Linked DNA regions of Homo sapiens: regions 1, 2, 4, 5, 6 and 7 are each linked to region 3. Evidence: promoter capture Hi-C in 16 types of primary human blood cells and fetal thymus (Javierre and others, 2016). All regions are on one chromosome and are shown on one strand. The core of a region is centred on a gene start or on the middle of the fragment in contact, and the rest is flanking DNA. Distances in the headings are between cores, read along the strand shown. Region 1 holds the start of MITD1 (microtubule interacting and trafficking domain containing 1). Region 2 overlaps TMEM131 (transmembrane protein 131). Region 3 holds the start of INPP4A (inositol polyphosphate-4-phosphatase type I A). Region 4 overlaps TMEM131 (transmembrane protein 131). Region 5 overlaps TSGA10 (testis specific 10). Region 6 overlaps ZAP70 (zeta chain of T cell receptor associated protein kinase 70). Region 7 has its middle 37 kb from the start of ZAP70.

Region 1 (3,534 bases), core at 479-2,978, 740 kb after region 3:
TGTATATTAGATTGAGGTAAGTGCTATTAAATAAAATAATGAAGGAGGACAGGGAGTGCTGGGATGGGGTTATAATTTTACACTGGAGGTCTGGGAAAGCCTCACAAAGAAGGTGGTATTTGTGTAAAGGCCTGAAATAGGAGAGAGAGTGTGCCATGCAAATAAATATCTGTGAGAAAAGAGCACATTCCTGAAAGAGACAAGCCCTGAAATGCAACTCCAATTATGTTACTCCTTTGTAAAAACCTTAAATGGTTTCTCCTTGCCTGTGGAATAAGTTAAAATCTCCTGGTAGTCAAGGCCATCCTCAATGTGATCCAAGCCCCTATCTACCTTTAAACTTTACTTCTCACTCTTCCTCTTCAGATACATGCTCAACCAAACTACTTATTTCGTAAGACAGCACAGGAATTTGAAGACTCTTAGATGAATTTCTGACTTCTGAAATTATTTTTCCTCCAAAGCCCCAATCAAACTCCACCTCTACCTTTCCACCCTCACATGACCTTTAACTGTTTAAATCCTCATTGCGTTTATCTATAGATATCTCTCTCCTGGCACTTATTCCCTGTATTAGCGCTATTTGCATTTTGGTCTTAACCCATCTATGTGACATCATTGTCTCTGTAACCTCTACGGGATCAGTGAAGCACCCTAGAGCAGAACTGTGATTCTCCTGCTTCAGATTCCTAGTGCAGCCAAAACTTGAGCAGTGTTCCACCTGACCAACACAGTACACCATCTCTCTTTTGGGATTCAGTATACCAGAGTCGTTGGGGCCTTGGGCTCCGACTGTGACTCTACCACCTCCTAGTGGCAGAACTTGAAAGCGAACAATACTTTTTATGCTGTAAAACGAGAATACCATCAACTCCTACTTGATAGGGCAATTGGTACGGATGAAACGAGATCATGCTTTTAATGTTTTCTGCAATGCCTGGCACTCAGCACTGAAACGTGATATCTATGCTTATTGCTGTTGTCACTGTCATCATTATCATCAAATAATGCCCCAGGCAAGGTAGAGTTTACAGTTATTTTTTCTTTTTTTTGAGACGGAGTCTTGTTCTATTGGCAGACTGGAGTGCAGTGGCGCGATCTCGGCTCACTGCAACCTCCGCCTCCCGGATTCAAGCAATTCTCCTGCCTCAGCCTCCCAAGTGGCTGGGACTACAGGTGCGTGCCACCATGCCCGGCTAATTTTTGTATTTTCAGTAGAGACGGGGTTTCACCATGTTGGCCAGGATGGTCTCGATCTCTTGACCTCATGATCCACCTGCCTCGGCCTCCCAAAAAAGTGCTGGGATTACAGGAGTGAGCCACCGCGCCCGGCCGGTAGAGTTTGTAGTTCTGACCAAAGCACCAAACCATAAAGGGCTCCCCTCTGCTGCCCCAAAGCTTCTGTAACACTTTAATTATAAGAAGCTTAAACTAGAAAGAACAGAGGGAGCTTAGTCCAGACCGGGAGTGTCGGGGGTTGGGGAGCAGGAGCTGATCTTATCAATTTAATACATAAATATTGAGTGTCTACTGTGAGCCAGGGTTGTGCTGGGTGTTAAGGAATATTTGGGTATTTCTCAACATTGAATAATACGAAAAGTCTCACTTGTCTCCTCCACAACCCTGCGCATTTCTCACACCGAACCTCATCCGTTTAAGAAAAACTTTTCTTCTTCTACCGCTACATAATTTTACTTTGGCTTGCTTTAAATGCAAATGTTTAAACAGAAAATTAAAAATAATCGTATAATAAACACCCTTATTACCCATCACCGAAATTTTTAAAATTAGCATTTTTGCTCAAATAGAGCTTCGATTTTTAAGAAATTTTTGCTTAAGGAAAATTAACTAAAGACATCATAGCATCTCTTTCTAAAACACTTTGGTCTGCATCTCTAAAAATTAAGGAAAGTTTTGGAAAAAAAATCATATTGCCTAAGAAAATAATTTTAATGCCCCCCAATCTATATTCAAACTTTTCTAATAGATCCAAAAATGTCTTTTAAAGTTCGTACAAACCCAGGTCCTATCAAAGCTTATATATTACATTGCGTTATATCTTATATCTCTTAAGTCTTTTAAAATCTAGACTAGTAGCCTCCCCACCTTTTCTAGGTAACATCAATCTATTAAAGATCTAAAAGAAAGCGGCCCAGTTGTCCTATAGAATATCCCACCTTCTGTATTTAACTGCTTCTTCGTGGTGTGGAAAAATCATTTTTAACTCTTTCACTTCACCCCAGACACAGCAGGAACCAGCTCCTTTTCCTCAGGTCCTCCCCGCCTTGGCTCATTGCTCACCTTTCAGAACCTGCAGGAGCAGATCAATCCCCTCTTGGTAACACACCAGAGCCTGCGGATACCGCGACTCCGAATCTAGTTCTACTGCCCGCTTTAGCACAGTGGCTGCAGCTGTGCTCTGCGGGTCCTGCCTCAGCCCGGACTTCGCCATAATTCTGGAAGTTCTCCTCCGCCTCAACCCAGGATGAAGTTGAGCGGGTCTGCTGCGCTTCCGGGAAGTGGTCATGTGATACCCAGGCGCCTGCGCTCTCTTTCTAGGGACTTTCCTGAGTGGGAGGGATTTCGCCGGAACAAAAATGCCTCAGTTTGGAGGTCGCGCTCACTGCGACGGCAGGCTTTGAGTGTAGCACTTGGTAGTTCTTCCTCTGCTCTGCTTCCCTTCGGAGGAAAATTTCAGGCTGAAGGTTTAGCGGGTGCCGGTGAGTGGGGAATGAGTGGCGGAGAGTGCGGCATTCTTCGCAAGGTGTATCCGGGAACCCTCTGCAGATCCTAATTGATTTTCCCTATTGCGTACTGAATTGGCCGGTTACGGCAACCTAAATGGGTCTGCCCCTGATCCCGTCACATTGGCTCCCGTAAGGCCATTGGCCTGCAGGATCCCCCCGTTTCCCAATTTGCAGGATCCAGGGCCACGCGGCTTTTTGTGCCCAGACTCTTGGAGCTCAAGAACGGAGCCGCCGAGGCTGGACAGCTTGGGAAAGGGAACCCAAGCAGCATTTTCTGTGCTGCTGCTTTATTCATAACTTAGGGTTGCCACTGGGTATTAAGGTTGCTTTTTTTTTTTTTTAATGAAGACAGAAAATTGCCTTTATCTTTGTATTGCTTCATTTTATAATGCAAACATCCAAGAGTTGGCAGTTAGAATATTTGCCATTTTATTAAAACTGTGATTTGTTACCATTTTGATCGAGACCTACCAAAAGCTGTTTGTTCTGCCCTTTTTGCCAAGAGGCAGTAATGAGGGCTGCCTACTGCTTGTTAGGCACTAGGAGTTCAGAGAAGAGACACGCTTCCAGCTTTCAGAGATCTCTGGTATCTCTGCAAGAGTGATTCCATGTTTTGCATTTCAGAAGTGTTTTTCCCCCTTTAATAATTGTATACATTGTCGGTTTAGAAAAAGAAATCGATTTTTAACATTCCTGTTGCATGCATGCTCATTGTAAAAAGACAAAAGAACTATCGGTCGCTGGGGGGGAGAAGGGGGAGGAAAAACGCCTTTTTTCATACCCCCAG
Region 2 (3,200 bases), core at 221-2,720, 640 kb before region 3:
ATAAAGAGGCACAGGAGAACCATGAATCCCAAATCCACAGGAGGTCATAAAACAAAATGTTAACCAATGGGAATTCTCAAATATAATATCTTCAAACCTTTGATTTTTTTCCTGGCTCCAAGTCTTCCTTATTGCCCCGTAATCGTTTATAGTAAAATCGCACATCTTCTGACAAAGATCGTATTTGCTGTATTTTTACCTTCTGTGAGAAGGAATTCATAATATTTAAACTTTGATGAACTATTTTCCCCTGAAGGAAGAAAGCAAAGAACAAACTCATTTGTATATGGTTAAATTTTCTTAAGATCACAAGTTTCAGAGTAGACAAGCATACTTCTAGGAAACCAAAGCCCAAAAGACATCTTAGAATGTTCATCAATTGATAATCTTTAAATTGTAATCAACAGCCAAAAAACCTCACCAAAAAACTTTTTTTTCTTGCTGTGGCATGTTACAGAAAAATCAGGAGGACAAATCTTTGCAATCTTGTGACAACTGATTGACGTTAACATTCACACTTTCATGTTAAGATACTGAGGATGCCAACAAAGGTACAAACAGAGATAGCTTTAGATAAAGGGAATGGTTACTTTCAGTTTGGTAAGCAAGGTTTGTTTACACCCAGGCAAGAATGCCCTGAAATCACTGAATTCTAAAATCTAAAGCCAAAGGGGACAAAATCACAATTTTTTTTAAAAGAAAGTCTCTTCATTAGGAAAAATATATGTCATTTGTATCAAAGAGAAATTACACATCTTTTGAAATTATGGGTTGTCAAGTATCTTATTAAAACAGTACACAAGCTGGGCACAGTGGCTCATGCCTGTAATCCCAGCACTTTGGGAGGCTAAGGTGGGTGGATCACTTGAGGCCAGGAGTTCGAGACCAGCCAGGCCAACATGGTGAAACCCTGTTCCTGCTAAAAATACACACGAAAAATTAGCAGGCATGGTGGCACACACCTGTAGTCCCAGCTACTGGGGAGGCTGAGGCAGGAGAATCACTTGAACTCGGGAAGCGGAGGCTGCAGTGAGCCGAGATCGTACCACGGCACTCCAGCCTGGGTGACAGAGTGAGACTCCATCTCAAACAAACAAACAAACAAAAACCCCAGCACACAAATAAAACTGTTAAATAACCAGCAATTGCTCTTACCAGTCACAAGCTTCTGTCTGTGACAGGGTACCAAATTTTAAATTAAAAAATTAAATAATTTACGTAATCCTCCAGAAGAATATTACAATCTTTCTTTTGGCTGAATACAAAATTTTACTTTTTGTAGATTCCTACTCATTTGAAGAGGTCTCTGAAATGATTAAACCCACTTTTTAAATATTTGGAATAAAAAATACAGAAGTGAAGAGCGTGCACAGGAAAAAGGGCGCAATGACTGTGACACTGAGGCCAGCGCTCCTCATTTACAGCCCAGTGAGGCTAAAACACCCGACAGCCAGCAGAGGGCGGGCATGCAGCTGCAATGCCGACAGGAGCCCTCGGGCAGTCACCGCACTTGGCGTACTTGAAATAACTACTTCCCTCGTGCCTTGTCTCTTGGGGGTGTGGGGGATCAAAAGAGCTCACAGATATAAATGCTGCTCTCACAATTCTATTCAAATATTAAGCTATGAGTTACATGAAATGTTTATTCTGAGGTATTGTTTCCAGTAAGCTCTAGTATTCTCCATCTGATAAAGAGATTGACAGGATTTGGTAATATAGAGGTAATTTAGAATTCCAAGCAAGTATCTGGTCCTGTAAGCCTCCTAGAGATATCTGAAAGCTTAATCTGAAGCAGTTCAAAACCAACCCCTCTAAATCTCATGCTGAAATGTGATCCCCAGTGTTGGAGGTGGGGCCCTATGGAAGGTGTCTGGGCCACAGGGGTGGATCCCTCATGAATGGCTTGGTGCGTTCTGACCTCGTAGTAATGAGTTCTCATGCCATTAGTTCACACAACCACTGGTTGTTAAAAAAGAGCCTGGCACCTCCCTCTCTTCTCTCTTGCCATGTGATCTTTGCACATGCCAGCTCCTCTTTGCCTTCCAATATGAGTGGAAGCAGCCTAAGGCCCTCACCAATGCAGACACTGGGGCCATGCTTCCTGCACAGTCTCCAGAACTGTGAACCAAATACACCTCTTTTTTAAAAATAAATCACCCAGCCTCAGGGATTCCTTTATAGCAACACAAATGGATCCAGACCAACATCTTGTTTTTATACACATGCTTTCTCATTTATTCCACTCATGGGGCTTTTCACTGTGTCATCTGCTGTCTTCTGAACTGAACTTTTCCCTGCCAGAGTTTACGCAGAGATTAAGGACATCATTGATTGAGAAGGTAATGGAAGGAAGAAACATGGCTCTTTTGGATAAATAACGAAGAGTTTAGTATAGTCAGTACAAAGTGGAATGACAGGAAGATGAGGATTTAATTAAGACCCAAACTTAAATGTGATGAAACTAGTAATTCAAAGTTTGTATTTTTAAGGAGTTAAATATTGAATTCAGGTTTTACTGTAAGGGTTGAGTATCCCTTATTTAAAATGCTTGGGGCCAGAAGTGTTTTAGATTTTTTTTTTGGAATATTTACATATATATAATGAGATATCTTGGGGACAGAACCCAAGTCTAAACATGAAATTCATTTATGTTTCATATACATTTATATGCATAGCCTGAAGGTAATTTTATACAACATTTAAAATAATTTTGTGCATGAAGCAAAGTTTTGACTGGAACCTGTTACAAGAGGTCAGGTGTAGAATTTTCCACTTGTGGTCTCAAAATGTTTCAGATTTGGGAACATTTTGGATTTCAGATTTTTGGGTTAGGGATGCTCAACTTGCATACAGCATTAAGATTTTGCAATGTCTTGTTTCTCTTAACCCACTACTGTCTCCTACCACTAGGATGTGAGACACTTTTACATCTGCCCTGGTATTCCTGAATGGACTGCACCATCTTCTTGCAAAAGGCAGCATCTTCTCCTGGTTTTCTCATTTGTTTTGTCTTTGTTCTCCAGGCTCAAACTCTAAGCCATATTCCTGCCTCCTCTACCCACCCTCCTCCCCATACTTGTTTCAGTTTGTATGACCTCTTTAGGATATAAGCACAGTTCAAATGATTCACCTGCAATGTCTCTTGCCTATGTTCCCTCTCCATCATTTGTTCCTTCATCCATACATTATGTACTAAGTGC
Region 3 (3,407 bases), core at 476-2,975:
GGCGTGGTGGCTCACGCCTGTAATTCCAGCACCTTGGGAGGCCGAGGCGGGTGGATCACCTGAGGTCAGGAGTTCAAGACCAGCCTGACCAACATGGAGAAACCCTGTCTCTACTAAAAATACAAATTTAGCCAGGGTGGTGGCACATGCCTGTAATCCCAGCTACTTGGGAGGCTGAGGCAGGAGAATTGCTTGAACCTGGGAGGCAGAGGTTGCGGTGAGCCGAGATCGCGCCATTGCATTCCAGCCTAGGCAAAAAGAGCGAAACTCCATCCCAAAAATAAATAAATAAACAGCATGGCCATAAAATTTATTGTTTGAACAGGAATACATTTGAGAGTGAAAGAGGGCCCTATTAATAATTTTGCTGCAAAAAGATGTAAACTGGGGCTGTTCCAAGCAAACTAATTGGTCACAGTAATTAAAAAAAATGCAAAAATATTTTTGCATTTCTACAAATTTGATTTTCTTGGCTTTAACTTTGTACTGTGGAGTCAAGGTTCTGTCAATATTTCTTTCCATTTAGCTGGAGAAATAATAAGAGGGAACTGTTTTATTACTAAGTTACTTTTCAGAAGAGAAATAAAATAAAAAGTAAAGAAATAAAAATTTAAAACTAGGACATTTTCTTTTTCTTTTTTCTTTTCTTTTCTTTTCTTTTTTTTTTTTTTTTTTTTAGAGATACAGGGTGTTGCTCTGTCTCCCAGGCTGACACTGCAGCCTCAAATTCCTCTGCTCAATCGATGCTCCTGCCTCAGGCTCCCCAAAAAACTCGTTTTATATTTGTTTATTTTTATTCCAGACTATTGTCTGTATTTTGGTGACATGAGGAGGATCAGACATAATTCTAAATGAGTTCAGAGAATTCTTAATTTCCATTCCTAACTGGTTAATCTCTTTTGTTTTTGAAGCAAATTATATGTTTAAATGCTCTGCCTGAGAAGTATTCTGGTTTATTGAATTAAAATCATTTTAAGAATTTTTTTTTCGGATAAAATGTGAAGACTCAAAGATAAGGATACATTCAGTCCAGTATTTGCCCTTGCTCAAGGAGAAATGCTGTTTTAAAGTCAAAGTGAAAATTTTCTTCCAAAACTTCTGATTATTGTTTTTGTCTATGGAAAAATAGAAACTTGGGGCAAAGTGTAAGGACTGATGCTGTTGCAAGTCTGTTAGTGCACACTTATGCACACAGGCCAGAACAGGTCCGGAAGGACATACACTTAGAGGTTAGCAATTTTCTTTTTTTTGCAAGTCTGTATTTTCAAAGAATTAAGATTTTAATTTTTTGCTTGTCTGGTTGGAATGTTCAGTTTCCTAAACATCTCCTGGGGAGTGAGTACGTCTGCACTTCAGGAAGTGCTCTTGTCCGGAGGGCAAAAGGTTGGGGGCGCATCCCCGGGTCGCGGCTCCTCCAGGAAACTTTCCCTTGGGGATCCGTCAGGGCCTCAGATGCCTCAGTGGATGACAGGGTGAAGATGCCATCGCTCAGTCAAGTCCAGAAGTTCAAGAACTCCTTGCAGGTGAAGCAGTCACAGGATAGGGTGGGATCTTGTGGGAACCTAGCAGTAGGAATTGGCGCGAGCAGCTCGGTCACCGGCCCTACTGTCTCAGAGGGCGGACCCAGCTCGGGCTGGTAGTGGGGCGGGGGTCGCAGGGCGCGGGCCGGGCCCTCAGCGCGCATGCGCGACAAGGGGGCGGGGCCAGGGCGGGGCTGCGCCCGGCGTCTAGAGCGGCGGCGGCTGGCTAGGGCTGCGGCGCGCGTGGAGGGTTCGCTGCTGGTTTGCCGCCGGGTCGGGCTCCGTGGGCCGGGGCAGGAGGACCAGCACCTGAGGCCGGGCCCGCAGCCCGCGACTTCACAGCCAGGCGGCGGCGCTGCTGCTGCTGCGGGGCTCTGGCGCGCAGCCCGGCGGGACAGCGGGGCGGCTGGCGCCGGGGGCCGGGGAGCGCCAGGTAGGTGGGCCGGGCCGGGCAGGAGGCGACGCGGCCGCCGCGGGGGCCGGGGCCGGGGACGGACAGCGGGCGCGGGGGCGCGTCCAGGTCCCCGCTGGGGCGGATGTGGACGGCGCCCGCGGTTTTCATGGAAATTGCACTGCCTAACGGTGCCAGTGGTCCACCTGCGGTGGCGTCTTTTGAGAACAATCCGAGCCCGGCCGACCCCCAGCCCCGTGAAGACGCGGCCGCCCCAGCAGGGAGCCGGGTGCCGAGCGGGCGCGTGGCCGCGGGACGCAGACGCGGTGCCTGCCCGATGCGGCTCCAGGGCTGGGTCTACGGGCTCCTGAAGCTGGAGGCCTTGCCGTGTTTGGGGTGGAAACATAACCGGGTGAAAGTAAACATGCATCTCCGTGTGGGAAATCTGGTCTCCATCCTCGAAACTCTTCCATTTTCTGCCTGCCTTTAGACCCCGACAACATTTCTAGCATCTTTGCTTTCTATATTTTATTTCTCTCTGGCTTTGCTAGTCAATTAATTGAGGCCTGAGAAATGTGCAGGGATCTGTGGCTGTCTCTTGAAAAGCCAGCCAGGAATGGGTAGGCCCCAGAAGACAGACGTTCAAAATGTCAGAGGTAAATTTGTGTCTTTGTGGGCGAAGGAAGGGAATGTTGATGGTCTCGCTTCCCTTCCCCTGTCGCCTGCCCTCTGACATTACATAATGATGGGTTCTTCCTGCCCCGAGTTCATCCGTAATGACAGACCATGAAAATGTTCCTCTGGGTAAGAAAGACCTATATGTGGTAGAGCCCATCTTCTCTTTTGCTTTGCCACTGAATGTGTCTTGTGTTGGGAACCTGCCTAAGAGTGGAATTTGATTTGTCGCCTGCCCCTCAGGGCATTTAAACCAAGGGAATGGGGGTGGGGTGGCGATTTGGGTGTTGCAGAGAAATTCTGACTGGTCCATCTGTTCACAGTGGGTTGTGTGGACCATGGGGAAGCCAGTGGGGTTGAGGACAGAGTGGGTTGACTTCGGTGTGAATCATGGTTCTGCCGCTTGCTGACTCTGGTTCTTATCTCTAAAAGGTGAGAGCAGAGCCTTTTTTGCTGAGTTTGTTTTGGAATCTAGCTGCTGTTGGCGTTGGCCAGTGCACGTAGAATTGCTTGCTATAGGTTGTCCTAGAATTGAGCCTAATTTTTCTTTGGTTGAAAAACACACTTTCTTTAACGGAAATTTTGTTTTTGGATCTAGGCTAGGGCATTTGTTTTGGGGGTTCTTTGCTGAAGTGTCGACTGCTAATGTACTGTTTTCTTTGAAGAAAGATGAATGATGGGGCCCATGTAAGAAGGGCAGTGTGGTTGGTCTGTTGCAGGAGTGGTGCCAGGAGGCCGTGATGCTGTCTGTCCCAGGGGTGGCGTTGCATGTGAACGGGCCTCTCGGTGCCTCATTCCCTGTGATGTCTAGTAAACACGCC
Region 4 (3,531 bases), core at 522-3,021, 670 kb before region 3:
ATTTTTGCTGATTCATACTTTCCTAAATTAAGCCAGATGATCTCTATCAAGAATCCTTTTTTAAGGCTTCTGAATAAAATGGGTAACGGCCAACTTAATTGAAGCGATTCATTTTTTTGAGACAGAGTCTCACTCTGTCACCCAGGCTGGAGTGCAGTGGCACGATCTTGGCTCACTGTAACCTCTGCCTCCCAGGCTCAAGCAATTCTCCTGCCTCAGCCTCCTGAGTAGCTGGGATTACAGGTGTGTGCCACCATGCTTGGTTAATTTTTGTATTTTTAACAGAGATGGGGTTTCACGATGTTGGTGAGGCTGGTCTCGAAGTCCTGACCTCCGGTGATCTGCCGTCCTTGGCCTCCCAAAGTGCTGGGATTACAGTGGGATTACAGGTGTGAGCCACCGTGCCCAGACTGAAGTGATTCTTTTTAAAAAGGAAAAACAGGTGGTTCAGATGCCAGGCTTTATTTATTTATTTACTGACAGGGTCTCAGTCTGTTGCTCAGGCTAGAGTGCAGTGGTGCAATCACGGCTCTCTGCAGTCTCTAACTCCTGGGCTCAACTCCTGAGTCTCTAACTCCTGGGCTCTATGCAGTCTCTAACTCCTGCCTCAGCCTCCCTAGTAGTTGGGACTACAGGTGTGTGCCATCACACCTGGCTAATTTAAAAGAAAAACTTTTTGTAAGATAAGGTCTTGCTATATTTTCCAGGCTGATCTTGAACTCCTGGGCTCAAGCAATCCTCCTGCCTTGACCTCCCAAAGTGCTGGGATTATAGATGTGAGCTACCACACCTGGCTTATTTTTATAATATATTTTCCTCCATTTTTTAATAATAATGTTTTTCTTTTTCTTAATATTCTGAGATTTCGTATTCTTTTTATTTTTGCTTTTCACAACGTTACACCTGACTCAAGCCTGGCCTATTTTTATTCCTGTAATACACAGTACACATTTCTGTCTGGGGAGGAGAGAGGCAGAGCTGAGGACACAGCTAGGGACATGACCAGCTGTGGAGCAGGGTTTTCTGAGTGCTGACAGGTCTGGGGCTGGCGTGTGCAGTGTGGTGTTCACAGCCCTTGGGCCTGAGTTGAGAGTGTTATTTAAGCAGATTTTTACAGATAATATGATTAATCTACTTCTTTTGCTTATTTTAGATTATTACATTTATGTAAACATATACTGTTGATAAACAAATAGAAAAACAAAAGGATCAGTGAATACTCAGGGTCCTAAACCAGGGATGCCCTGGGCCCTTCCTGGTTCTGCAGAAACCTTCAGTGCCTGAGATCTGATTCCCATTCCTTGGCATCTCTGCCATAGACTACAGTTTTCCGGAGGTCTGCAGGCCCATTTCTATGTTGCCACAGCTGGAAAACACGGTTAGATCAGATTTCTGTTGCTGCAGCCCCACCCTCCTATTTCCTAGCAAGTGATTTTTTTGAGGTCAACTCTTGGGAGTGTGGATGGATGGGGCTGAGCCACTCCTCTGGCTTTATCACCTCTCACAAAGCTTCCGAAAGACAGCAATGATATATGCCTTATTAATGACATATCTTATTAAAAGATGTGTACCTGTCCTTCAGACATGTGGGGTTATATATTAACACACTAAAAGGTGACAGGAATTTCAGGAATCACTAAAGCTAGTACTGGCTGTGATTCTGAGTGACAGTGTTTGACATTTATTATCAGAATGCAGTGGAGTCACAGAATGGCTCTGTTCAGAAAGCCAACCTTCTCCGGTTATTAAAAAAACCAGTCTTTATTTGATTAAATGATTGATGAACTAATAAATTCTGACTCAATACTTTCATCCTCGAGTTCAGAAAAACAAGAGATCAGTGAGTTTAAAGAGATCAGATAAAGGAGGATAGAAGAAAGGTTGCATATAGATTTCTCCAGTTACAAAAGACAGTTTCAAGCACACGGCTTGATTTGTGTTCTGGTAATGATTTATCTTTTAACTACATATTGAGAGAGCACCGGTTATTGCTATAACTGCCCCTTGACTAGGCGGTTCAGGACTGACCACTCTAAGCTTTTTGGTTTACAAGAGAACTAAAAACCCTTGCAAAGGTAATGACACTCAAGCGACGTCTTTGACTAACTTTTCAAATGCAAATTTGCTGATGGTCAACTTGTAAAAAAAATCAGAATACAATGTAAGTCAGTGGAACAGGGATGGGGGTTAGGATTAGTGTGTTCTATCTGCTTAACAATACTAAGCTCAGGCCTGAGGGCTAATCAACAGGGCCAATTTGGTGACAGTCACCTATGGAATGGTACCTCTAAGATAATTCTTAGATGCACTGGTTTTAAAATTTATCATCATAGGAATTACTGCATGTCTGTCTACCTCACAAGATTTCTGCAAATGTAAAAATGAGGATTTTCATTATTTGGACTTATTAGCCTCATTTACTTTAAAATATCTGATCACTCACCTAAGCCTGAAAAAGGCCAAGAAGAAGAATCTCTAGCTAGTAGCCCAGTGTTATTCCTGTCCTGGGTGCCAGGATATTGGTGTCTCAGGTGGATTTCTCTCAGGAGAGATCCAAGTATGTGAACCTCCTCTTCAGAAGAGGTGGTCTCCTTTTCTCTCTCCCCTTCAAATGATCAACCACCTGATACCACTCTGCTTGACGTTCCTTCTACCTGGGCCAGACTGCTCTCAACAAATTGTGGGACCTGGTCACTTGAACTAACAATTGCCACAAAAGAGTAAATTTTAGGTACAAATACTTCATTACTAAGCACCACCATATACTGTATTATTTCATAAATTCAGGGACAAGGTTAAATTTTACTGCAGTTATCACTAATTTCTTACTAGCTTTTGGGTTCTATAGAACAGGACTGGCCCTGCCTGAAGCCATATAATCTAGGGACAGAGTCTAGGTTAGTGGTGTTTTTGCAAAACTCAAGTATGATTCCCAGGATCAGAGTAAGAATAGACCTTCCACAAATCTATGGCCCACACTTATGATGACAGACAAGCCATGTCTTCCTTTTAAATTTACACCTAATTTATTCGACTTCCTCTGTCACTTTCTACTGATCACAACCCACAAGCGGGTAGACAGCAGCTCCCGTGCTGATGACAGTTCTATACAATGAACCAGGAAAGGTATTACTGATGCACCAACACTAAAATTATCAGGTAGATGCTGAGCCAAGGTTTAATGAAAATGTGAAGTAACTTCAGTTAATAACCCAACAGTTCAACTCACTCATCTCCCTGGGGAAACAGCCTGCACAAGCCCTCCCCGGGGGCCACTGAATCCCATTCCATGGGGAGGAACTGGAGTTATTTAATGGTAGAACCGTCTGACTGGTGACACCTGCTCTGAACCATTTTTAAGGTAAGAATAAACTTTTCCAAGTTTTATGGCATGGAACTCTAGATCCCAACTGGGTTAACAATTCGACAGACTCAGAGATCTTTTGGAGGAAAGTTATGCTTGTACCTGTGGTTCAATCGTCAAGGTCATCTTTGTGCAGAAGTAAAATGGATCTCAGCCTGGGACTGAAT
Region 5 (3,535 bases), core at 488-2,987, 630 kb after region 3:
CTATTCAGCTATGGTAAAGAATGGGCATTTCCATGTACTACTGGAGTAAATGTAGATTTGCAGAAAGCAAATCTGTGATCAGGAATCTGGTGATGTATCAAGAGACAATTTTTAAATGCTCATAAAAACAAGAAAGACAAAAATGTTGATTATTTTTGAAGGTGGGAAATGGCACATGGGGATTCATTATATTTGAAAATGTCTATTTACATTTTTTTAATTTAAAAAAGAAACCTCAGCTGGGTGTTTTTCCTGTAATCCTGGCACTTTGGGAGGATCACTTGAGCCTAAGAGTTTGAGACCAGCCTGAACAACATAGTGGGAACCCAACTCTACAATAAATAAATAAATAAATAAATAAATAATAATTAAAAAGAAACCTGATAATCTGTGATTCACTCTGAAATGAAATCTAATAAAATTTAATGAGATGCTGTCATTAAGGCATTTGTTACAGTGACAATATTTATTCACATTAAGTGAATCATGCAGTAAATAATAGTATATCTACATAGTGGCATAACCACATAATGGAATATTACATACCTGTGAGAAATGTTTGGAATGATTTTTAATAATACAGGGAAATATTTGCCTATGTTAAGTGAAAAAAAAATCGTGCTAAAACACAAAAATACCTCATTATCCCAATTTGTTAAAAATTGTGGTATCAAGGATAAATTTTTTTTAAGTTTCCACTTTCTCGTCTTCTGCAATACTGGTTCTTAACCTGTGGTCCACAGAGAGAGACCTCTCTTCTACCTTGGGCCTATGACCATAACGAAGAAAAAACTACTTTTGAGCATATGTAAATTGTTATGACAACAGTTTTCTTCTGATTATAAAAAATGTTTACAAAGTTTGAACAAGGCAGGAAAATGCTTACAATATTATAGTAAGCTAATAATAGCTATAAAATATTTATTGAGTGATATACTGGACAGTACAGTAAGTGCTTTCCAGGTATAGTCTCACTTATTAACCATTTTTACAGATGCTACAGAGACTCAGAGAAGTTGGTTTATATGATCACACACGCAGAGAGCAAGATTCAACCCATGTGAATCTTACTCGACTCTACTGCCTCTTCATGTAGAAAAAAGCATGATCTAAAGTGATAGGTGATTTTATCCCACTACATTAGAAAATGTGTATAAAAATAGTGTTAAAATTTTTAAGTGCACTGTATAGCAATTAAAAAAATATGTCAAATATAACAGTAACTGAGTATCAAAAACATGGGGGCTTTTCTAAACTCTTAACTTTTTGTTTAGAAAAAAGACTTTCTATAATAAGCTTCTATTTCTAAACCAATCAAAAAAATAGAAACTAAATTTCTAGGTTTTCATAAATAAGATATATCCACCTTTAGCCCATATGCTCTAGCTGTAAAGAGTACACAAAGGCAAACCTTACAAATTCCCATGTTTTGGTTTTTATTGCTATTCATTAATTTTTTAAATAAACTTTTAGAATAGTTTTAGATTTACAGAAAAGTTGTGAAGACATTATAAAGGGCACCTCTATTGTTAACATTTTACATTAGTATGGTGCATATGTCACAATTAATAAGCCAATATTGACACATTATTATCTGAAGTCCATACTTTATTCAGATTTCTTTCCTTTTTTACATAATGTCCTTTTTCTATTCCAGGATCCCATTATTCATTTACTTTTAAACAAAATACTTTAACATCTCAGATAATTTTTTATGATTAACAAAGTATTACAGCTTTATAGCTGTTTAAGTAAATTAATAATCTTCAACAGTTAAAGAACACAGACTTTCAGGATGCAAACTAAACACACTGAAAGTGATACAAAGTGGGGAAAACCATTTGGTCTTAAAAATTTTGAGAAGGGAAGAAATTTTCCAAATAGGATTTTTAAATGTTCACGTTAAAATAAATGTTATTGGAAATGAGAACTGCAGATTAGACTTAAATATATTGCCTTAGGGAGAAAGAGTAATTATAAGAGGAACTTTCCTAAAAAGAATCACAGTGCTAATGAGAACCAAAAAACAAGGCACAGTCCATACATTCATACTTAAAACAGAATAATATGTAGTCCATTTTTTTAAAAAAAAAACACCTATTCTTTTCTTTAAGGTTTCTCAAGGTTTTTATTCTCATTTTTTGATTATTCAAATATTTATCCTTCAGCAAGGAAGTACTAAGCTTTAATACAAATATAGCCCTGTTCTCTCTTTTCTTTAATATTTAACCCTTTGTGTCTGAGAATTCCATTTAAAAATTATGTGGCCTATTTTGTTATTTTTTAAAAAAAAGAAAAGGCTAGTTCCAGTGTCTGAGCTCTTCTATAAAATAAAATGAGGGCTGTTCCTCACAAGAAATTCATATTTTTTTTTCTTGGAGAAAATGATTCTAGGAACAAGTGTACCTGGTTTTCTTGTTTAGCTTTAGCAAACTGTTCCTGGAGATTGTCATTGTCATGAGCCAAGATATCTCTTTCCCTGGCGATCTGGGCCAGCTCATCATTTGTCTCATCCAATTGCCGACGCATTCTGGAAACGTCTTGTTCACACACAATTAGGGCCTCAGTACACTGTCTATTCCACAAATCAAAGAGTACATAAGAAGAGACATTTTACTGAAACAGAGCAACAAATTCTCACAAGACAGAAGATGGACAGTTAGTATGAAAACATTTGAAGAGATTTTAAACACGTTTGAATTTATAGGAATAAATACTGCAAAGACAGTGCATTAGAGTTTCTCAATGTTGCCATCATTTCGCTATGAAAAGGATACAAAGTATACATAATAGTCAATGATTTGCCAAATATTTCAAAACTTCTTACATCAAGTATTAGGAAGGCTTTCATCCTACTTCTGTTATGGCTTAGTCTCCTTTACAGATTCCTCTTCCTCTGCCCACTTAAAAATTAATGCTTTTCAGGGCTCAAGCCCTAGCCTCCCAATTATTCTCACTCTAACCCTTCTCTCAGACAAACTCTATTCATATCCATGGTTCCCAACCCCATCTAGATCCAATGACTCCAAAATAATTATCTCCAGTTTTAGACCCTCTGTTATACTCCAGACTTATATTTAACTGCTTACTAGACATGTCTACAATAAGGTCCCAAAGGTTCTTCAAATTCAGAGGTAAAATCATTTTTTCTCCTCATACTTTCTTCATGTTCAGTATTTGTCCCTGGCCAGAAACTTGGCATTTTCCTGGTGTCTCTCCCTCATACAAAAGCATTTCACTCCTTCTGTCCCACAACTCCTAAACCCCAATTTATCACCACCTCTTCTGCTTAGGTATCTTTCTAACACAAAATTCTCCTCAGAATTCTTTAATGATTTCTTATTGCCCAAAGGATATAACCAATACTCATTTGTCTGTTACACAAGCCTCTGCCTGCCTATTTAGTCTCCTCCCTTCACTTCTCCCCTTACACTCTAGGTTTCAACAACACTCACCCACTTGTAGGTCAAGAGGCTTGTCAACATGATCTGTGGTTCTTTGCTATTCTTTCTACTTTAAATGCCCTTCCCTTCCC
Region 6 (3,277 bases), core at 395-2,894, 720 kb before region 3:
TTTAATAGCTGTATCAGAGTTCACTTTGAGATTAAACCCTAATGCATTTAACCAGTCCCCTAGGGATGGATATTCCAATTAGCGTATGCTCTGTAGAAACTTGCCAAGGAAGGCAGAGGGCAGGGCGAGGGGTGCCTGCTAAGGCCGAGGGGAAAGGGTCAGCGGAAGGGACAAGGGAGGCTGAGGGGTAGGGCCCTTGGGTGAGCAAAGCTGGGTGCGGCCTCAGGGCCTCTGCGCATGCAGTCCTCTCTGCCTGATGCGCTGTCCCGCGCGCTTTTTGAAAAGTTGGCTCCTCCTCCTTCAGCTCTCCCTTCAAATGCTAGCTCCTTGGAGAAGGTGACCATCCTAGCTAGAGCCACCTCTTCTCTCTCTTAATGTCACTCCACTTATTTCCTTTGTAATGCTGACCTCAATCTGTAATTATTATTTTTGTTTCTTTCTCAGTTTATCTCACGGCTCTCCCTCCTTAGAGTGTTGCCTTCGGGAGGACGGGGTGGGACCGCGCCTGCCTCAAGCGTGCATATCCCCAGCACCGGGCCTGAAACACAATAATTCAGCACGTGGTTGGGACATGAAGAGATGGGTACAGGTGTGGGTGCTTGGGGACCAGTTGGCGTGCTTGGGCGTCCACATAATGTCTCTGGAAAGTCAGATGGGGGTTTGGGACTTCTCGATCTGTGCCCAGCAGGCTGCGGCTTCTCTCCAGGTTGACTCTGGCACAGAGCAGGCTCTGCCCCCTTGGCGAGCTCAGTCTGCGGCACTGATGCCCTCCACTTGGCGTCTCTCGCGCCGTCTTTGGGCCCAACGCACCAGGTTCAGGAAGGCCCTGACGTGCCTCCGACCCTCTGTGAACCCGCAGGTTTCGGGAGGCCCAGGGGCGATGCCAGACCCCGCGGCGCACCTGCCCTTCTTCTACGGCAGCATCTCGCGTGCCGAGGCCGAGGAGCACCTGAAGCTGGCGGGCATGGCGGACGGGCTCTTCCTGCTGCGCCAGTGCCTGCGCTCGCTGGGCGGCTATGTGCTGTCGCTCGTGCACGATGTGCGCTTCCACCACTTTCCCATCGAGCGCCAGCTCAACGGCACCTACGCCATTGCCGGCGGCAAAGCGCACTGTGGACCGGCAGAGCTCTGCGAGTTCTACTCGCGCGACCCCGACGGGCTGCCCTGCAACCTGCGCAAGCCGTGCAACCGGCCGTCGGGCCTCGAGCCGCAGCCGGGGGTCTTCGACTGCCTGCGAGACGCCATGGTGCGTGACTACGTGCGCCAGACGTGGAAGCTGGAGGTGAGAGCGCAGCCTGGGGCGCGGGGTCTGGAGGGGCGTGGCCGAAGAGGGGCAGTCGAGGGTTTTGGGGGGATAGGAGGGAGGAAAAGGTCGTCTTCCCCATTCAGTCCCCTTTGGAAGCTGGAGAGGTGGGGCACTGGTTGGGGAAGAACCTGAAAGGAGGCCTCAGAGGCAGGGGCTCCGTGGTGGCGGTCGCCTTCCGCAGGCTGAGCGATGCTATGGTGCTCTACTATGCCAGATGGGAAGGTAGAGGGACGCACTGGGCCGGGCGAAGGCGAGGCTTGGAATGGGGGCGGGGCTGAGAGGAGGGTGCGCGGGGCTAGGGTGAGCCCTTAGGGTAGGGTGGCTGTTGGGGAAGATGGGCAGTAGTCGTCCACAGCCTGAGTGACACCACCATGCACAACTACCTGAATTAGGTCTTCAAGCTGGAGATGCGCTTGGGGCCGCGCTGGAAGGTGGGGGTGGTTCCTCCCTAGCTGGATTGGGGAGGGGACCACGGAGATGGCGCGGAGGTAGTCCTCGAAAACCTGCCTAACACGCGCTAGGGACGCCTGGGTGGGGTGGGGAGTCCTCTGGGACAGGGCTCCCGGAAGGGGGTTCCTGTGGCGAGCACTTGGCCACACCTACAGACCTCCTCGCCTCTCCTTTTCTAGGGCGAGGCCCTGGAGCAGGCCATCATCAGCCAGGCCCCGCAGGTGGAGAAGCTCATTGCTACGACGGCCCACGAGCGGATGCCCTGGTACCACAGCAGCCTGACGCGTGAGGAGGCCGAGCGCAAACTTTACTCTGGGGCGCAGACCGACGGCAAGTTCCTGTATGTGGGGCCCGGGATTTGGGTGCGGTGAGGATTGGGGCTCGTTGGCAGGGATCCTGGGGACTGGGGCAGACGTGAGTGTGCAGTTGGGCCGTAAGGGTGTCCCTGTGCTCACATGTGCAAGTGGGTTGTGTGTTTCTGATGTGCAAAGGGACTTGCACATGGGGAAGTAGAGGTAGTGACTAGGAAAGCCTCCAGACTCGGTCCCTTGGCCTGGCTTGGAATCCCGCTTCCGCCACCTGCTGGCTGTGGCCCTTGGGCAAGTAGCGGACTGTGGTTGCCTGCCTCAGTTTCCCCTCCTTCAATCAACAAATATTTACTGAATACCTACTGTGTACCAGGCACTGAGCACACGGCAGTGAGCCAAAAAGACACAGTGCCTGTCCTCATGGGGCAGGTAGACAAGAAAAGGAATCAATAAAATAGAGACCCTGTCAGATGGTGGTAAGCGCCGTGTGTGCAGGTGGGGAGGCGGTTGCAATTTTAGATTAGGTGGTCAGAAGAGGCCTTCCTGAGAAGGTGACTTCTGAGGAAGGGAAAGAAGCTGAGGAGTGAGCTGTGCAGCTTTCAGGGGGAAGGGTGTTCCTGGAAAATGCAATGGCAAGTGCAAAGATCAGGAGGCAGGAGTCTATTTGGCGTGTTCCAGAAACATTGTGGAGGCCATGTGCCTGGAGCTGAGTAAGTGAGGGGGAGAATGGGAGGAGGTGAGGGCAGGGCGGGGACTTTAGCTTTTCCCCCAAGTGAGGTGGGATCCCCGGGAGAGTGTTGAAGCAGCCCCCTCTAACTGTCCTGTGGTTGACAGCAGTACCTCCCCTCAGGATCCTCTATGAGGATTACATGAATTAATACGTGTGAATCGAGAGTATGGTAACTGACATAGGAAAAATGCGGTAAATGTTAGCTTTTATATGTGGGTGAACGTGCGTGTCTGAGCCACAGCTGAGGCCATGTAGCTATTTGTGAGTTTGTTAATGTGAAAAAAATCTCTGAAAATCTCTTTTTAAAACTCTGCTGAGTGTTTGACAGCCCTGCTGGGGCTGTTGCTCTCTGGTTTGGACACGGGATCTTTTCTGTAACAGATGGTATCCAGGTGCAGCTGAGGTCACTCAGGCCTCAAGACACAGATAAATTGGTGCTGCCTCTTTCCCATGACCTCAGGAAGCCCAGTGTTTTCCCCCAAG
Region 7 (3,495 bases), core at 576-3,075, 690 kb before region 3:
AGTGCTAGGATTGCAGGCATGAGGCACCGCGCCCGGCTGACACTTCCTATTTTTACAAAAGGCACAGACTAATAGCACGCATAGTGCGCTGTCTGTGTGGGAAAGGAGGGAGATGGGAGTGCTTTTCCCAAAAGGACGTTTATAGAGCAGGGACAAGGGAATGATGGCAATAGGTCTTTCTAGGCAGCAGCAAGCCCTGCTGGCTTTGGAGTTCCGGGTGGGCAATGACTGTCAGGGGTCAGGTCTGTGAGAGTTGCTAGGAGCATGCATTCTGCAGAAGCGGGAGGGGACTGACGGCAAAGGAATTAAGTTACAGAAGGATCCTGAATGCATGAAAATTTGCAGCCCCACATTGCCTTAACTGGAAAAGGAGGTGGTGCTTTGTGGGCATAGGAATCTGATGCAGCCTCCTCTCCCTGCTGCAAAATATCTGGCTGGGAGGAATGGTCCAAATCCAGTCCCTCTAAGAACCTTGTCCCTGGACATGCTGCCGCAGTTCTGCTGAGAGGCGGGGCTGAGGCAAACGGGAGCCCAGGCTGGCGGTGGACCCAGTGGTGAGGGTGGGAGGGATGAGGGCGTGGGAGGAGGGGCCCCAGGCAGTGGCAAGGAGCTCAGGAGGCTCCAGATTGGTGGCCTCATGCCCCCTGCCAAATGAGTTCCATCCCCATCAGGAAGTTGCCATTTCTAGGGGTTTAACACTGGGAAATGTCTTTGGAATACCACAGTAACAGACAATAGGAAGTGCTACCACTTATTTATTTGGCCTCATGTTTCACACCATCCTCCTGAGGATGTTTGTTTTGCATATAGGGAAACTGAGGCTCTGAGAGGGGCAGAGTGTGCCCAAGGGCCATGATCAGTAAATGGCAGAGCCAGGACTGGAACCCAGGCCACACTCATCCATGCCACTGCACTCATGTGTACACCCAAATGGTCAACGCCCTTCCCCGCAGTGCAGCAGCAACGCACCGCAGTTAAAGCAGCTGGGCTTGTTGCTCCCTGCAGCAAGGGGGACCCAAACAACAGTGAGCTGGGGTGTCTCCTAAGAGGGTGTCAGGAAGTAGCAATTGTAGGATGTGGGCCTTGGTTATTAGCTTATTTGGGGGGTGGGTCTATGGAGTCAGGGGTTTGCTCTGGAGTGGAGGCTGGCTCAAGAGTGTCTAATGAACGCAGTCTATAGTTACACCAGAGTTAACAGTTTTTTCCTGTCTGTTGTAAAGCGAGTTGTTGAATCGCATGATGAAAGAAATGGTGTGCAGTACCATCTAAAACTCTAGACAGGAGATACTAGCCAACCATTTACAGGTAATTACGAGAAACGCAAGGACTGTTAGTCCTCGTAACAGGTCTGCAAGACAAGGGCCTAGAGCGCCTCCAGGTAATGGGCGCATGTTCCAGAAGCCAGCTGGGTTGGCTTTAGAGGTCAAGGCTTTTTCTAATAGTCACAAACTGTCCTGTTCCCCTGTGGTGTTTTTCTAGGTATAAAAAAGGAGTATTTGTTATGGCATGACCTGTCCCTTTGCTGGCTAAGAGGAAAATAAAGCTTATATGACTGTCCTTGATAACTCTAAAGAATGGACTTAGATTAGTCGGTTGGACTTTCAGAGCAGAGTGGTCTCGTTTATGGCTTCAGCTAAAATTACCAACTAGTTTTGAACTCTCTCTCTAGTCGTTTTATTCCTTTGGTGGGAACTGGAGTTTGCAGAGTATGCATGAAGAGCAAATCAAGGATCGCTACTGGAAGGTTTTGGAATCATCTATGATAATTTTACGCTGGATTGCTGGGTATTCTTTCAAAGAATGGATTACTGGAGACGTGGGTGTTGTAAATATCTGAACATATCTAACCACTCTGAATATACATGAGTGTGTGGCAGACCAATATAAGCCTGACATGGGCTAATAAGATGTAGTGTCCCACTGAAGCACAGATCGTATGGGGAGCATATTATTATAATAGCAATAAATTTCGTGTCTTTGTGTGCCTTTTGTACAGAAGCTGTAGATCACGTAGAGGCGGGTGTGTTTTGGATATACTGTATAGTTCATATTTATGTTGAGATAAAGCTGGAAATAAAATGTAATCATGTAGAATCTAAGATGGGATGAAGCTTCAAACTGTATACAGTGGCATGTTATGAATTCATAAGAAGCAACATGGGACCTAGAGGTGGTTGATCGTATAATGCTAATGGTAATTTCTTAAGATGTAGAATTTTGGAGGTTTCTGAGAGGTATGCTATTTTTAAAAAAATTCCATTAGTTCTGTTTTTCTAGAGGACTGGAGAAAACAAGGACAGTGAAATCTCTGGATTAAAGGCACAACTTCAGTGTTTCTTAATAACAGTATGTCTTAGTCCCTTTGTGTTGCTGTAAAGGAACACCTGAGGCTGAGTAATGTGTGAAGAGGTTTATTTGGCTCAGGGTTCTGCAGGCTGTAGAGGCAGCAGCATTGGCTTCTGCTGAGGGCCTTGGGCTGGGTGCACTCCTGGTGGAGGTGAAGGAGAGCCCCGTGCAGACCACACGGTGAGAAAGGGAGGAAGAGGGAGGTGGGGGAAGGTGCCAAGCTCTTTTCAACAACTAGTTCTTGTGGGCACTAAGGGTGAGCACTTAGTCCCATGAGAATGGCACCAAGCCATTCACGAGGGCTCCATCCCCTCCACCAAGCCCCACCTTCCACACTGGGGATCATATTTCAACAAGAGACTCAGCAGGGCCAAACAAACCACAGCATTGGTCTGGAAAAAGGAGTATCTCTGTCATTAGAAGTAAGTGGGGATTTTCCAGGTTGGAAAACAAAATCAAGCACTTTTTGTCACTCTGGCAGGGAAATTTTCAATCCACAGTGAATATAAACAAACAATAACCAGAATGTATTTATAATCCACGGCAGAAGGCATTTGTATGGAGTCTACTTGGAGGGGTCTGAAGGGCCTTCAAGCTCTCCAGTTCCTGCTCACGTCTACATTTAAATGTTTTATCAGGATTTCATTCACAGGGGGATGTTTTGTAACCATTATTGGCAATACCTCTAAAATTACCTGGCTTAATTAATATTGTTGCCAATTTATTTTTACAGCTATCTAATTATGGGTAACATCATGAAGAATTTTTGTTAGATTCCACTATCACCTTTTTTCATGACATCAGCTGGCCCTCCTAAGATGTAAAAGGCATCAGAACTTTCCCCATTTTCTTTTTTCAAACCAGGGGCTTGTTCTGACACTAATAGCAGCCTCTGAATTTCTCAAGACCGGTGAGATCACAGGAGTGTTTCTATAGGCTGATCTTGTTTCTTTAGCACAGTGGTCAGCCCAAACACTGCCATTAGGATCTGAGTCTTTGTATTTGAATGACCTTTTACTATTACTATAGCTAAGATAGCAAAGCATCTAAAATGTCTTTGTTATCCAACTTCTACAGGCATTTGTCAGGGTTAGAAGCCTGTTCCTAAAGCATTCAAATTTTGTGGACTAGCCCCAATCACATTTATTT

The links. Contacts are between HindIII fragments. The CHiCAGO score rates a contact against its expected background, and 5 or more counts as called.
Region 1: a fragment that was not itself captured here is called in contact with the fragment with the promoter of INPP4A in region 3 in 2 of 17 cell types (naive CD4 T cells and naive CD8 T cells); the score reaches 6.9 in naive CD4 T cells.
Region 2: a contact is called between a fragment that was not itself captured here and the fragment with the promoter of INPP4A in region 3, in 1 of 17 cell types (naive CD8 T cells). The highest score is 6.0, in naive CD8 T cells.
Region 4: a fragment that was not itself captured here is called in contact with the fragment with the promoter of INPP4A in region 3 in 1 of 17 cell types (M1 macrophages); the score reaches 5.9 in M1 macrophages.
Region 5: a fragment that was not itself captured here is called in contact with the fragment with the promoter of INPP4A in region 3 in 1 of 17 cell types (naive CD4 T cells); the score reaches 6.3 in naive CD4 T cells.
Region 6: a contact is called between a fragment that was not itself captured here and the fragment with the promoter of INPP4A in region 3, in 1 of 17 cell types (M1 macrophages). The highest score is 5.3, in M1 macrophages.
Region 7: a contact is called between a fragment that was not itself captured here and the fragment with the promoter of INPP4A in region 3, in 1 of 17 cell types (monocytes). The highest score is 6.9, in monocytes.

The regions. Positions count from the first base shown.
Region 1 is chr2:99,178,530-99,182,063 of GRCh38, forward strand. It overlaps MITD1 (microtubule interacting and trafficking domain containing 1), which reads right to left and starts at 2,529. Exons shown (of 7, transcript NM_138798.3): 1 at 2,302-2,529. The coding sequence starts at 2,452. It overlaps MRPL30 (mitochondrial ribosomal protein L30), which reads left to right and starts at 2,655. Exons shown (of 6, transcript NM_145212.4): 1 at 2,655-2,720. RefSeq lists enhancers at 2,197-2,336, 2,347-2,576, 2,597-2,646 and a silencer at 2,864-3,036. The HindIII fragment of the contact is 610 bases long and covers 1,424-2,033 here.
Region 2 is chr2:97,805,454-97,808,653 of GRCh38, forward strand. TMEM131 (transmembrane protein 131) reads right to left here. Exons shown (of 41, transcript NM_015348.2): 20 at 98-250. Among named protein-coding and RNA genes, the nearest start is that of ZAP70, 93 kb to the left of the region's middle. The HindIII fragment of the contact is 615 bases long and covers 1,164-1,778 here.
Region 3 is chr2:98,443,133-98,446,539 of GRCh38, forward strand. INPP4A (inositol polyphosphate-4-phosphatase type I A) reads left to right here and starts at 1,726. Exons shown (of 25, transcript NM_001134225.2): 1 at 1,726-1,953. RefSeq lists a silencer at 1,556-2,195. The HindIII fragment of the contact is 7,361 bases long and covers 1-3,407 here.
Region 4 is chr2:97,768,491-97,772,021 of GRCh38, forward strand. All of the region lies in intron 33 of TMEM131 (transmembrane protein 131), which reads right to left. Among named protein-coding and RNA genes, the nearest start is that of ZAP70, 57 kb to the left of the region's middle. RefSeq lists enhancers at 1,624-2,137, 2,138-2,650. The HindIII fragment of the contact is 528 bases long and covers 1,508-2,035 here.
Region 5 is chr2:99,069,300-99,072,834 of GRCh38, forward strand. TSGA10 (testis specific 10) reads right to left here. Exons shown (of 21, transcript NM_025244.4): 14 at 2,407-2,575. Among named protein-coding and RNA genes, the nearest start is that of C2orf15, 71 kb to the right of the region's middle. The HindIII fragment of the contact is 887 bases long and covers 1,295-2,181 here.
Region 6 is chr2:97,723,157-97,726,433 of GRCh38, forward strand. It overlaps ZAP70 (zeta chain of T cell receptor associated protein kinase 70), which reads left to right. Exons shown (of 14, transcript NM_001079.4): 3 at 860-1,282; 4 at 1,936-2,096. The coding sequence starts at 881. Among named protein-coding and RNA genes, the nearest start is that of ZAP70, 11 kb to the left of the region's middle. RefSeq lists an enhancer at 1,117-1,707. The HindIII fragment of the contact is 4,563 bases long and covers 1-3,277 here.
Region 7 is chr2:97,749,271-97,752,765 of GRCh38, forward strand. It overlaps a transcript of ZAP70 not described here. Among named protein-coding and RNA genes, the nearest start is that of ZAP70, 37 kb to the left of the region's middle. The HindIII fragment of the contact is 568 bases long and covers 1,542-2,109 here.